Regions from separate parts of the Homo sapiens genome. Here regions 1, 2, 4 and 5 are each linked to region 3. Evidence: promoter capture Hi-C in 16 types of primary human blood cells and fetal thymus (Javierre and others, 2016). All regions are on one chromosome and are shown on one strand. Each heading gives the region's core, a stretch centred on a gene start or on the middle of the fragment in contact. The rest is flanking DNA. Distances are from core to core; before and after follow the strand shown. Region 1 holds the start of BTBD9 (BTB domain containing 9). Region 2 overlaps BTBD9 (BTB domain containing 9). Region 3 holds the start of CCDC167 (coiled-coil domain containing 167). Region 4 overlaps BTBD9 (BTB domain containing 9). Region 5 holds the start of DNAH8 (dynein axonemal heavy chain 8).

Region 1 (2,700 bases), core at 188-2,687, 1.1 Mb after region 3:
CACATTTTTCCTATGTGTTAGACATAGGGCAAGGAGGAAAACACAGATGACTCCTGTCCTAAAAGCTATTACAGTGGAGGGAGGAAGACACTTTGAATTCCGAGTAATCTAATAAGTGTTACAAAGCAAGGTTATTACTGGTTCCAAGAGGTAACATACTTTACAGATTCTCAGTTATGAAACAGAATCATAGAATTTTAGACCTAAATGAGAACCTTGAACTTATTTTCCTCTATCCTCTTACACAAAACATTAGATTTCAGTACAGCCTATCTTTTCACTGGTTCTACAAATTGCCTTAATCAACAGAAAGAAAAGACTGGCTTCTTCCCTGTCTCCAATATTCCTCGCTCCCAAGTATGGTAACCACAACCCCTATACATCTACCCATGATAGAGTCCAGAGCACTGAGAAGACAGCACAGGGCTGAGGATGAGCTACACCTTTACATGCTGGGTTCTCCCATCATCAACACTTTCCGCCCACACAGTGAACAGAATCCGTATTTTCTGCCCAGAAAATAGCAGCCTGTACTGCCTTTAGGAAAAACAAACAAAACATGCTTCCATACTTCCTTGGATCTACTAATGACAAAAGCACAACACGGTTCTGGGAAATATAGCAAGATAACTAAGTCTATGAGGAAGTAAGAAATGAGGATGCCTATCAGCACCTTGGTCTCAAAATCTGTAACAACAATGTACTAAAACGCCAAGGAAACACATGCACATACATGTGAAGTTAGAAACTCTAGGCAACAGGTTGGCTGCCCCGGATCTATACTGACAGGTCGCCCTCCCAAGGTCGTGGGTGTGTCTGATGCCGCACGCAGGCACTGATTCACAACTCTCTCCATAACAACCAGCTCCTACTCAGAGGCTGGCCAGGGCAGGGGAGATGAGGGCCCCAGCAGTCCCAAACTTTCCAAACCCCCACCCCGGGGTCCCGGGTTTCGCCTCCTCAGTCCCAGGCAACGTCGTCTCAGACAGGATACGAGACTGCTAGGGAACCTGGGCTGCCCCTGATTCGAACTCCTCTCTTTGGGAGGCTGGTAGAGCCACCCCGAATCCCCGAAACGTCTACTTCCCACTACACCTTCGTGGACTGCGAACGGGACGGCTACCGCTCTCCCAGAGCACCCGGGCCCAAGAAATGACCCTCGTCAGGCCCCGTCCCAGCTCCTCCCCCGCCCCCGGAAAAAGCGGCGGAGGGGCGGGGGGCGGTGCGCGCGGATACGGCGGGGGCGCGCGTCCCCGCGCCGCAGGTGCGGCCAGGCCCCACCTCCCCTGCAAGGACCCGGCTACTCACCCCAGCGATGCTCCTCTGAGACCAAGCTGCGACACAGACGCCTCTTCCGCCCGCTCCGCACCCCTCTCTGCGCCACCGCCCCCTTGGCCGCTTCCGTGGCCGCCGTCCTCGCCGCCGCCCCGGCTGCTGCGGCGCGCGTCCGCTTTCACGCACTCCGCCGTGGCCGCGCACGCGCCACTGCGCGCTGGCGTCACTTAGCAACCGATCGACAGCGGGCTGCTGGGTCCGGCGATGCAGGCCCAGAAAGTCGCCTAAGGCAGCTTCCGCGGCTTTTTCGCATCGGCCCGACCCTCTGCCCCTCCAGAACAGGGGGCCCCAGGGTGTGGCTGCCCTGCCGGCACCTGGCTCCGGGTAAGTCGAGTCACCACACGTCACTGTATGGCGTCACCGGCGCACGTCACTACGGATGAGAAGGTCCTGGGCGCCTGTGGAGTGACCTCGTCCAGACCGCCGCAGACCCGATCGGCAAGTTCTTGGAGGTGCAGGAAGGTTCTCCAAGGAGTAGGACCAGAAAGGGATGAGAGCGCGAGCGCGGTTAATGTCGAGGCTGCTAAGTGATGCTCGTTAATTTCGCAGCAGGGTGTGACTGGCCCAGCCTTGACTCTCAGTTTCCTCTCTCAGTAAATGGGCATAATAATACCGGTCCAGCCTACGCTGGAGAATTGTGAGGTGAAAATGAAATAAGGTATGCAAAGGTACTTTGTAAGTATAAAGCCCATTTGACTTGGTGGCTCAAGCCTGTAATCCCAGCACTTTGGGAGGCCGAGGTGGGCGGATCGCTTGAGCTCAGGAGTTCGACACCAGCCTGGGTAACATAGTGAAACCCCGTCTCTACAAAAAAGACAAAAACTAAATGGGCATGTTGGCGCGCGCCTGTAGTCACAAATGCTCGGGGGGCTGAGGTGGGAGGATCGCTTGAACCTGGGGAGTTCAAGATTGCAGTGAACCGTGATCGCGCCGCTGCACTCCAGCCTCTGCAGTGAGAGCAAGACACTGTCTCAAAAAAATGTATTTATCTATCTACATAGATAAGAGTCCTAGAAATCCGGGTGCAGGTCTGACTGTAGCTGGTGTAGGAAAGTCAGTTATCCCCGACGCTGGAGCAAGCTAGGGGACCGCCCTTGCAGTTGTTGGAGGAGACAAATTGGGAAGGACTTAATTCCGGGCAAAGGAAGCTTCATGAGTAAAAGTAGAAAGTGAAAATGGTCAGGAAAAGCAAGGCTTGGGGCAGGGAGACCCATTTTTAGGCCATTGCAGTACTCCAGACAAGTGATAAGAACATTAAACAAGGCATTGGCAGTGGGAATAGAGGAGGGGATAGATGTTAGCGCCATTAAGGTGGTAGAATTCACAGCACTGAGTGCGGATAAATGAGTAGGCCAGGTTTCTAGC
Region 2 (2,700 bases), core at 169-2,668, 1.1 Mb after region 3:
CCAAGAAACTAAATGGGTTCCCAAACTGGAGTTCATTAAACTTTTTCACAAATTTCTTTTGTTTTGAGGATAATACTTATCTACACACTAAAAGACATTATTTCTCTTCACCATATGGTAAAATGCATTTAAAAGGTTATAATATTCAAAACCAATGAATCAAGTAAATAATGTTAACTCATGGTAGAATACAAAACGACTATTAAAAATACATTTTAGAGGAATATTTTTTAAAGGGTAGAGTGTTCACAATGTATTAATTTAAAAGTAAAATTAGCTTTTTGTATATCTAATCTTCATTTTATAAAACTATGTTTGTGCAGGTTTCTGTTTTGTGTGTGTATGTGTCCATGCATAATTGAAAAAAATGCTAGATACATATGAAGATTAATAATGGGTAATGAGATTACTAGCAATTTTTATTTTCTTCTATGTGCTCTTCTATATTTTCTATGGTTTCTACAATAAACACATATTTTTATAAGAAGAAACAAACAAAAAAGTGTATTTCTTTTAAAGAAATATATCCTTTAACTCCTTCCCCAAAACCAACCTTCAAGAGATAGCAGAATGATCACAAAGAAATAAACCATCATATCTGTAAAACAAAAGTAGATGACCACAAAGCTAAGTCATCTCAAACATAATGTCAGTTTCTAAGTCATGCTAATCACTTACCGGCTATCTCGGTCCCACAAGAGTATCCGTATGTGATTGATAATGGATGGCTGACCTAGCTTAATCTCGATGCCGGAACGGCAGTCATCATCAATTGGGTGCCTTGAAAATCCATGATCCAAATCATAATTTTGAGTATCACCATCTAATAAGGCTGATTTCAGCTCCCCCTTTACAACTTGGGCTCCATACTTCATAGTTGCAATGTTTTCTTCTGGTACTACAGTTAAAAATAGAAAAAGCAAGGTTAATGATTACTTATTTATTCTGTATTTTTTGAAAAAAATACAATTCTAGCATTCCAGTTTATTCTAGTATCTGCATTTAAGAACAGCATAGACAAGTTTATTGGATAGAAAATACAGAACATCTATGAGGATTAAGACACCATTCAGAGGCCGGGTGCAGTGGCTCATGCCTGTAATCCCAGCACTTTGGGAGGCCGAGGCAGGTGGATCACTTGAGCCCAGGAGTTTGAGACCAGCATGGGCAACATGGGAAGACCCTGTCCCTATTAAAAACAAACAAAAAAAATGTTCAGAGTTTAAATGTAATATTAGTATCACAACCACAAAGTGCTTGAGACTAATGTTATTTTTCAAAAGTTAATAAAACTAGAAAAGGCATGTACTAGGACAAACAAATCAGCTCTGCTGAGTTCATTCTACTAGTAACTTTAATATCTACTAAACAGGCGGGGTGCAGTGGCTCATGCCTGTAATCCCAGCACTTTGGGAGGCCGAGGTGGGCGGATCACCTGAGGTCAGGAGTTCGAGATCAGCCTGGGCAACACAGTAAAACCCCGTCTCAACTAACAATACAAAATTAGCCAGGCGTGGTGGCACATGCCTATAATCCCAGCTACTCGGGAGGCTGAGGCAGGAGAATCACTTGAACCTGGGAGGCAGAGGATGCGATGAGCTGAGATCGCGCCATTGCACTCTAGCCTGGGCAACAAGAGTAAATCTCCGTCTCAACAACAAAAAAATCTACTAAACAAAAATAGCATGTAAGATGACCTGTACCTGCCATCTGGACTGAGGACAATGTATAAAAGCAAAGCAAACAGGTCAGAAATCTGTTAAAACAACAGAAAAAGAAAGGTTCCAATATAGCATAGCTGTTAGTTATATATGAATATGCTGAAATTAATTAATCTAGCTTATAAAACAAGATCGTTTAAAAAAGATATCTTTTTTCTGCACTTGAGAATTTTTAAAAATGAAAATTGATAGTCTGTCATCAAAATCAGTATTATGGTTATTATTAAATCCCCTCCCCTCACCAACATTAGATTTATTAACCACCAATTGTGCCTGGGACTCTGAAGTCCTCCGTGTAAATTATGCTTCACAGATGTGGAACCTATCTTCCAGGTACTAACATTCTAAAACTGACACTCTCCATGGAAAGACAAGAGGCTGCAGAAAGATATTAAGAGCTTGAAGAGTCAGAGATTAAACAGTGGCTCCACATTTAGCCAGGTGCATCACTTTGAAGAAGTTTCCCTCTCTCAACTTCCATTTCTCAATGGGGTGGGGGGGAGACCATATCTATCCCCCAGGTGTTTCTGTTTAAGAATTAAATGAGATGATGTTTGTAAAGCATATTATGAGCTCTACTCATATATACATATATTTTCAAAATATACAGCCATTACTATTAAGAAAACATATTAAAAAGCACACGATAAGAGAACTATGTATGTTTACAGACTGTAAAAAAATACCGAATTCTCACAGTACACATACATTTTGGTTGTGTGATTTGAATACGGGAAAGTCTGGGCTATAATCAGGTTATTGGCAAAAAGATAGTAATTCATCATTGCAGATTTCTGGAAAAATTTTTTTTAATTTCAAATGAAGATGAGTAAAGAGAGTGGCACCAGAAAAGAACAATATATTGCAGCTGAAAAATGGAAGTTTAAAATGGAAGCAAAAGACTGTAGCAACCCAGCAAAAATAAACAAAACATCCTAGTTATGCTTAACTTCTTACCATCAGAAGTTTAAGTGCTATC
Region 3 (2,700 bases), core at 162-2,661:
CTACCCACATCACCATGGGGTGTGTGTGGCTTGTAAAAAAAAAAAAAATGCAGATTCTGGCCGGCTGTGGTGGCTCATGCCTGTAATCCCAGCACTTTGGGAGGCTAAGGCGGGCGGGCAGATCACTTGAGGTCAAGAGTTCAAGACCAGCCTGGCCAACACGGTGAAACCCCGTCTCTACAAAAATACAAAAATTAGCCAGGCATGGTGGCACGTGCCTGTAATCCCAGCTACTCGGGAGGCTGAGGCACGAGAATCGCTTGAACCCAGAAGGCAGAGTTTACAGTGAGCCGAGATCACGCCACTGCACTTCAGCCTGGACAACAGAGCGAGACTCTGTCTTAAAAAAAAAAAAGCAGATTCCTTGTTAAGAATGCACATCAAAGTCCTACTGAATTACTCGGGGTGTGGGAAGAGTTCAACTCTCCATTTTTAACAAGCCCTGTGACTCTATGCATGCTAAAGTTTGAGAATCACTGAACTCACTAGTAAGCCTGAAGAAGACTATGACCCTGTACCTCTCCTGCAACCTCCGGGAGGATGCCCTAAGGGAAGGAAAACAGGGGAAGCAAGATGAATTTCCAGGAAGACCACCTGTGCTTGATTCCCAGGCTCCACCACTTCCACCATCTCAGCCTGGGTTCCACCTGGAACCTCAATTTCCTCATCTGTACAAACCTCACAGGCTTGCAGTGAGGATTAACAATGCAATGAAAGTAGCACATAGCGGTTGCTCAGTATGTATGTTTTCTTTCCCTTCTATATGCAGCAAATTATTTTTAAGCCATTCAGTGACATCACCAATTCCAGAATTCTCTTTACATATTCCCAAAGTAATTTTGAAGGTACAAGCTTCCATACTCCGGAGGAAAAATTTCCCCTTTTAGAGGATATTTAAACCATTAATAATATACACCAGAATGGGCTCCCTCATCTTTGAGTCCTAGCCCTTTGGGAGTTCTCCTTAGATTCTACAGGTCCCTATTTCTCTGGGGTCTCCCTCACCTCTGTACCCATCCCTTTTGTTCTGTGTCCCCCGCTTTGAGTTCCCTCACTTCTATGCCAGGCCGTCTTTGGGGCTCCCCTTCACTTCCATGTCTCTTCCTCTCTGGAGATGCCCTCTCCAGAGAGTCTGGTTCGCCCATCCGGCACCTCCTCGGGCTCCCTGTCCTCCGGGAACCCCGTGGGCCTTCTCACCCCTCCCGTCCCTCTCCCCAAACCGCGTCGCCCTCTCATCCTACGCTTGGCTCCTCCTCCTATCTATAGCCCAGCCTATCCCTTATCCCGCGGCCAGGAGAAGGCAACTAACGAGGTGGCCCAACCCCCACTTTTCCCCTCACCTCTAGAGCGACGCCCAGATTCTCCCGCTTCTTTTTAGTCATGTTACTTGCCGGGATCCCCCAGTCATCACTGGACGCGCCCACCAAGTCGCTATGTGCGCATGCTCAAGTCTTCGTGCTTCTCCCTCATTGGCCACCGAGTCAGCGGGAGGTGGGGCTGCTGCCGTCGCCATCTTGTTGAGGGGCGCGGCCGGCTTGGTGCGGACATGTTTATGAGGGGCAACCTCTAGCTTGAGACCTCAGCCTAGATGGGTGGAGGGTGGAAAAGTCGGTACAGGGAGGCAGAATGTACAGCCCGGGAGTAGACCTGCCCCTTTCTTCCCCAGTTTTAAGCCGCTTTGCATCACTGAGAGCCTTTTTTAACCCCATGTTCTCTTTCAGTGTGTTTTGTGTTTCAGCAACAACCCCGTCCCTGTTTAGGCCACGCCCCCCATTCAAAGTCTGTCCATCCTTCAAGGCCGGTGCTGGAGCCTTGAGCTTCTCGGCCAATGGAATCTGATAATGGCCCTCTATTGTTATTTCTCCTTTGTGTCTTGACTTCTTTTTTTTTTTTTTTTTGGTTTGTTTTATTGTAAGAACAACCTACAAACATCACAGAAAACATATAACTGAGAAGCAGCATCCTTTATTCTACCAACTTTATCAGTTCCTCTTTGCTTCTGTTTATTCCTCCCAGGCTTGGCCTCACACACAGTATTTTACATTGTTGTAATCGTACTATACTGTACACCATAGACCCACGGCCTTTGAAATGTTTTGACTGTGACCCTACGATAAAAAAATGTATTTTATACCATGGCCCAGTTACCCATGAAACCAAAACCAAAGTTTCACAGTAAGTACCTTTACCTCCTGTAATGCACTCTGTTATTTTGTATTCTTGCCTATTTAATTAAAAAAAAACAAAGTCGGGCACGGTGGCTCAGGCCTGTAATCCTGTGTCTGGAGTTGGTTCCTTCAGGTGGGTTCTTGGTCTCACTGACTTCACGGTGAGTGTTACAGCTCTTAAAGGTAGCACGGACCCAGAGAGTGAGCAGCAGCAGGATTTATTGTGAAGAGCAAAAGAACAAAGCTCCCACATCATGGAAGGGGACCTGAGTGGGTTGCCACTGTTGACTGGGGGATGGCCAGCTTTTATTCCCTTATTTGTCCCCTGTTACAGAGCACTGACTGGTCCATTTTACAGAGTGCTGATTGGTGCATTTACAGTCCTTTAGCTAGACACAGAGTGCTGATTGGTGCATTTTTACAGAGTGCAGATTGGTGCATTTACAATCCTTTAGCTAGACACAGAGCGCTGATTGGTGCGTTTTTACAGAGCACTGACTGGTGCATTTACAATCCCTAGGTAGACACAGAG
Region 4 (2,700 bases), core at 55-2,554, 1.1 Mb after region 3:
TTAGAGTGTGAGTAACATCAAAGCTATGGGTGATGCTACTAAAGAGAAACAAAGACTTCAAAAACAATATTGCTACAGTCCCCTCCAGTACCCCCAAACTGGAAATCTTTATTTATGTAATGCCTTTTGATTTAATGAGTGACCTGCAGTCCTTTCTCCAAGATAAAAGTATAATCTGCTGATTAGCTACTCTTCTAGAATAGATTATTGCTCATCAAGGTTCTGTTTCTTTGCCTCACTGGTTAAAAGACAATTTTACTAAGGATGACTCACCCCATCTCTAACTCTCCTTGCCTGTGTTTGTTGCTGCTGTTCGTTACCAGCAAAACTGGAGAGGGAAGACACACAGACACATAAAGACAAGTATATAACCCATTACAGGAGGTTCTCATTATTCCAGAACAACAATTACCTGAAAAAGGACATTTAAAGTGAATTCACTTGAAATAACGACCAAAATTCCATAGTGAATGTGGAAAAGGGGTTTCATTACATTAAAAATTGAGATTAAATGTAAGTATATATTTAATCTTCTACTTAACAAAACGTATGTAATAAATGCAACTATGTGCTAACCAAAATAGTAGTAGTAGCAGTAGTAGTGATAAACAGTTGTTAGATATCTTTTAGTTTTTCTAGCATTTCCTAACTTCCCCAGCACAATTACAGTGAAGAATATTCTTCCAAAAATACCTGGACATCACCAACATTCCTTTAATTTTTAATTGTCAGATTCTTCTTTTGAAATGCTTACCATGTCATCATTTTGGTGGATTTTCTCTTTCTCAATTATTCACTGGTCTCATGCTGCCAGAATTTTATTTGCCAATGGCTTCGTATGTCAGTCTGGCAGCTTTTCAACCTCACTTTTCTCTATTTCATGAAATCTTTATTTCTTGTATTTTTGCAAAATCTGCCATCTGACTTTGCAATTGAGTACACTGATTTTACATCTTCCGAACAATCAGTAAAACACTATAACTAATGGGATGGGCAGGAATAGAATTCACAGGGATGAATGTTTGAGTGGGAACTAATTTTACACGTGGACAGTTCATTAGTGAACATTTTTATACTATGATTACTTCTGTTTCCCTATGCAACCTTCAAAACTGCAAGGCTCGAGGTAATGAATATTCAGCTAACAAGGGCATCATATACGAAAGGCCACAGTCATCATGGAAATGCCTGTCTTTGGGAACTAGAAAGGTTTCTCAGGGAACTAGAAGCACATCCCAAGGTACATCCTAACATTCTACATTTTAATGTTTCCTGTCTGCATGGCCTATCATCATAGTATAAATAGACTAAATAAAATGATAACTAGTATGCATCCCACTATTTGATCATGAAAATGATTTCAATCTGGCACCATTCACTAACTATAACAGCAAAATTAAAATCTTGATTTATTAATTTAAGCATTCAAATGTATATCTGACAACTGCCAGATTCCAGACCTACTAAGGGGTCTGGAAAGTCAAATGGCAAATGCTTTTAGAAGATTAAGAGATATATAGCAAGCATATGGATATTATCTTTGTCCTATAAAGTGTGTGTGTGTGTGTGTGTGTGTGTGTGTGTGTGTGTGTGTGTGAGAGAGAGAGAGAGAGAGAGAGAGATTTGATCACCCAGGAGTAAAAGTTATTACTTCAGAATCCAAAGTCCAAAATAAAACATTTTTTTTTAATCTTTGAAGCCTCACACACAAAAAAAGATAATACCACAAGATGATAAACAGAGATGAAAAAGACAGCACTGTGTGTTTAAAAAGACCTTCGGCCGGGCGCGGTGGATCATGCCTGTAATCCCAGCACTTTAGGAGGCCGAGGCGGGTGGATCACCTGAGGTCAGGAGTTCGAGATCAGCCTGACCAACATGGTGAAAACCCGTCTCTACTAAAAATACAAAAATTAGCCAGATGTAGTGGCGCCTGTAATTCCAGCTACTTGGGAGGCTGAGGCAAGAGAATCGCTAGAACCTGGGAGGTGGTGGTTGCAGTGACCCGAGATCGGGCCATTGCACTCCAGCTTGGGGAACAGAGCGAGACTCCATCTCACCAAAAAAAAAAAAAAAAAAAAAAAAAAAAAAAAAAAAAAAAAGGGCCAGGCACGGTGGCTCACATCCTCACATCTGTAATCCCAGCACTTTGGGAGGCCACGGTGGGCAGATCATGAGATTGGGAGTTTGAGAACAGTCTGGCCAACATGGCAAAACCCCGTCTCTACTAAAAATACAATAATTAGCTGGCAGTGGTGGCAGGCGCCTGCAATCCCAGCTACTCAGGAGGCTGAGGCAGGAGAATCACTTCACCCCGGAGGCAGAGGCTGCAGTGAGCCAAGATCGTGCCATTGCACTCCAGCCTGGGCGACAAGAGCAAGACTCAGTCTCAAAATAAATAAATAAATAAATAATAAAAAGACCTTTAGAGTCAGACAGACCTCAGCTTCAGTCCCAGCGGTTATGTTCTAGCTGTGTGATTATAAGTTCAATATGCTCTCTAAGCCTCAGTTTCCTCATTTGTGAAATACAATAGTTGGACAATAATACTTATTTCCTGGGTAAGACCAAATGAAATACTCAGTGTCTGGAAAATTGTGGGCCTTACCTATGTTATAAACCATATCTTAGCTAATAAATAATTTTCCTCCTTCTTCCAGGCATTATGACAACAATGTAAACCTTCTACCTGTTTATAAA
Region 5 (2,700 bases), core at 1-2,500, 1.2 Mb after region 3:
AGTTAGAGGGTAGGTAGGTCTTGCATTTCGGCACAGTCAGCAAGGATATTCAGGAACTCCCTTGCTCCCATAAGCTTATATTGTATAATCACTGAGTAATGTCTATTAATATGGATGGACCATGGTTTATTTAATTTGTGATTTTTTATATTCATTCTTGTTTTTTTTTTCAGTTGACAGACCTTTCAGTCCTCATTCCACATTGATCTGCTCTACATTCAAAGACTGACTTTCACACCTGTAAGACAAAATAGTTTATGTAAGAAGCTATATTTGCTCATTCTGCTTGCCAGCAGAATGTCAGAGAATTCTTTGGCAGCTACATTTCACAAATCCCCTAACTCAGTGACTAAGTGCAGCCCCTGGAAGAATGCCCCTGAAGATGATAACATCTCTTGCATGAATCTTTTCTTGCAAAAGTTCCAGGATCCTAACTCATGCCTCTTCCTGTACATAATAAGATAATAGCTGATAGGATTAATGATTATGCCTCTACAATCTATAACCAGATGTACCCTTGAACCCCACCCTTGATGAGATTTTGCTCTAATGTAACTGCTGAGCTCATTTGATGTAACTGCTGAGCACATCTGATGCCACTTCCCATCACATGCCACCACCTGTACCTAAGCTTTGGAGCAGTCTCACAGAAAGTCTCTGAAAGACTCTCCGGATTGCAATCCTTAGTAAGACATCTGAATAAAACTAATATTAATTATTTAAATGACTGATTTTTTTTTCTTTGGTTAACACACCCAACTAAAAACGGACCGCTCACATCATGTCAGGCAGTCACAGCAAAAGCAGAACCGTACTAGAGAGGGGAGGGGGTGGACTTGGGAGAGAAGTCAGTTTTCCCCCAGAATCTTTCTCTCTCATCAGTCACAGGTTTCTGAACACACTGACTCACCAGGAAACACTTTTTAGGTTCTCAAGGAAAACACTAAGTAACTTCAGAAACTGTAAAGGTCATAGAAAACATTATTTTATATATTTCCGTATTACCACGTATACGCGGGAATCCTCCCAAGCCCCTGGCACCGCACTCCAAATGTCCATCTCCAGGAACCCGCCCTTCAGTGCCTGGGGTCCCCTAAACAATGTTTCAGTCCTCGGGCTCGGTGGGTGCATCCTTTATTGGGGAGCGCGGGGGCTGCCCGTGCCCCTCCAGTCGCTCCCCGTAGGGAGCTGCGCACTGCGGAGCCCTCGCCCCCGAGCGAGCCTGTCTCGGACTCCCAACCGTCAGCCTCGTTCCGGGCCGCGGAGGCCGGAGCAGCTCCCCCGGGGCAGCGCAACCGCTGGGGCCGGCCTCAGTGGGCTGAGTGGTCGGGGCATCGGGGCCCAGAGAGCGGCTGGTGAGTACTTGGTCGGAGCGCGCTGTGAGCGCCCGGCCCCTGTCCGGGAGGCCCTGATGCAGCCGGGTTCCCCGCCCACTTTCCTTCTTTTTAGGGGACTGGAATCCACGCTACAGTTCAGTCCTCCACCTCTGTTAGTTGAACCCAGGGAACCCCTGCTTCAAAACCCCAGCTGAGTCACTACCCTTTGTCAGTCTCTACACTGGACATCTAAGTGACTTCACACCCACTCCCCGTTTTGAGACTAGAAAACCAAATACCGCACGTTCTCACCTATGAGTAGGAGCTAAGCTATTGCTACGCAAAGGCATCCAGAGGGGTATAGTGGACTTCGGAGACTCAGAAGGGGAAGGGTGGGAGGGGGGTGAGGGATGAAACAACTACATATCGCTTGCAATGTATGCTACCTGGATGACCCTGAAGTCTCAGACTTCACCACTATCCAATGCATCCATGTAAAAAAACCACCTGTACCCGAAAAGCTATTAAAATAAATAAATAAATAAATAAATATATATATATATATATATATATATATATATATATTTTTTTTTTTTTTTTGAGACGGAGTCTCACTCTGCCGCCCAGGCTGGAGTGCAGTGGTGCGATCTCGGCTCACTGCAATTTCTGCCTCCCTGGTTCAAGCCATTCTCCTGCCTCAGCCTCCCGAGTAGCTGGGGCTACAGGCACCCGCCATCACGCCCGGCTAATTTTTTTTGGTATTTTCAGTGGAGACGGGGTTTCACAGTGTTAGCCAAGATGGTCTCGATCTCCTGACCTTGTGATCCGCCCACCTCGGCCTCCCAAAGTGCTGGGATTACAGGCATGAGCCACCACGCCCGGCCATATACCTATATATTTTTAAAAATTCAAAAATAAAACAAAAAAAATGCCTCTCCCTCCGGCTTATTTCCCGTTCCTCTACCCTTCTCATTCCCCTCTAGCCCAAAAGTCTCATCACTGAATTTACCACTTTTCCCAAGATAGTTGTGCCTCTTTTTGCTTCTCTGCTTTTGTACGCCACTGTTCCCACCTTCTGCCTATAATGTTTCTCTCTCCCATCCTCTCCTGACAACTCTTCTTTAGACCCGACTCGGGTGGTACCTTCTCCGTCAAGTTTTCTTTCTTTCTTTTTTTGTTTTTCAGAAGTTTTGCTGCCTGCTAAGCTCTCTTAGCCCTTCGTTAATTCACCTGTCATTGACATTGACCATCTTGTGTTGTATTCAATAGTCTGTCACACCAATTTGATTGTGCATTTTGCTTTGGAGAAGTCCTTAGTCTTTTATGTAGCCACAGTGGCCAGACATGCAGAAGACGTTCAATATTGCTGAATGAACTAATGCAT

Evidence for each region. The method cuts DNA at HindIII sites, captures the fragments that hold promoters and counts their contacts. A CHiCAGO score of 5 or more calls a contact.
Region 1: a contact is called between the fragment with the promoter of BTBD9 here and the fragment with the promoter of CCDC167 in region 3, in 1 of 17 cell types (total B cells). The highest score is 8.5, in total B cells.
Region 2: a fragment that was not itself captured here is called in contact with the fragment with the promoter of CCDC167 in region 3 in 1 of 17 cell types (total B cells); the score reaches 6.9 in total B cells.
Region 4: a fragment that was not itself captured here is called in contact with the fragment with the promoter of CCDC167 in region 3 in 2 of 17 cell types (total B cells and naive B cells); the score reaches 6.7 in total B cells.
Region 5: a contact is called between the fragment with the promoter of DNAH8 here and the fragment with the promoter of CCDC167 in region 3, in 1 of 17 cell types (naive B cells). The highest score is 6.6, in naive B cells.

What each region holds. Positions count from the first base shown.
Region 1 is chr6:38,638,492-38,641,191 of GRCh38, forward strand. BTBD9 (BTB domain containing 9) reads right to left here and starts at 1,438. Exons shown (of 11, transcript NM_001099272.2): 1 at 1,309-1,438. LOC105375044 (a long non-coding RNA gene) reads left to right here and starts at 1,904. Exons shown (of 3, transcript XR_926767.4): 1 at 1,904-1,993. RefSeq lists a silencer at 1,101-1,300 and enhancers at 1,400-1,900, 1,701-1,780. The HindIII fragment of the contact is 9,229 bases long and covers 1-2,481 here.
Region 2 is chr6:38,579,540-38,582,239 of GRCh38, forward strand. BTBD9 (BTB domain containing 9) reads right to left here. Exons shown (of 11, transcript NM_001099272.2): 5 at 679-898. Among named protein-coding and RNA genes, the nearest start is that of BTBD9, 59 kb to the right of the region's middle. The HindIII fragment of the contact is 3,488 bases long and covers 1-2,700 here.
Region 3 is chr6:37,498,482-37,501,181 of GRCh38, forward strand. It overlaps CCDC167 (coiled-coil domain containing 167), which reads right to left and starts at 1,412. Exons shown (of 4, transcript NM_138493.3): 1 at 1,341-1,412. The coding sequence starts at 1,382. RefSeq lists an enhancer at 1,405-1,604. The HindIII fragment of the contact is 3,379 bases long and covers 851-2,700 here.
Region 4 is chr6:38,554,955-38,557,654 of GRCh38, forward strand. All of the region lies in intron 6 of BTBD9 (BTB domain containing 9), which reads right to left. Among named protein-coding and RNA genes, the nearest start is that of BTBD9-AS1, 75 kb to the left of the region's middle. The HindIII fragment of the contact is 2,930 bases long and covers 1-2,700 here.
Region 5 is chr6:38,714,061-38,716,760 of GRCh38, forward strand. DNAH8 (dynein axonemal heavy chain 8) reads left to right here and starts at 1,251. Exons shown (of 93, transcript NM_001206927.2): 1 at 1,251-1,355. DNAH8-DT (DNAH8 divergent transcript) reads right to left here and starts at 1,155. Exons shown (of 2, transcript NR_186581.1): 1 at 1,006-1,155; 2 at 110-238. RefSeq lists a silencer at 1,238-1,287. The HindIII fragment of the contact is 3,077 bases long and covers 630-2,700 here.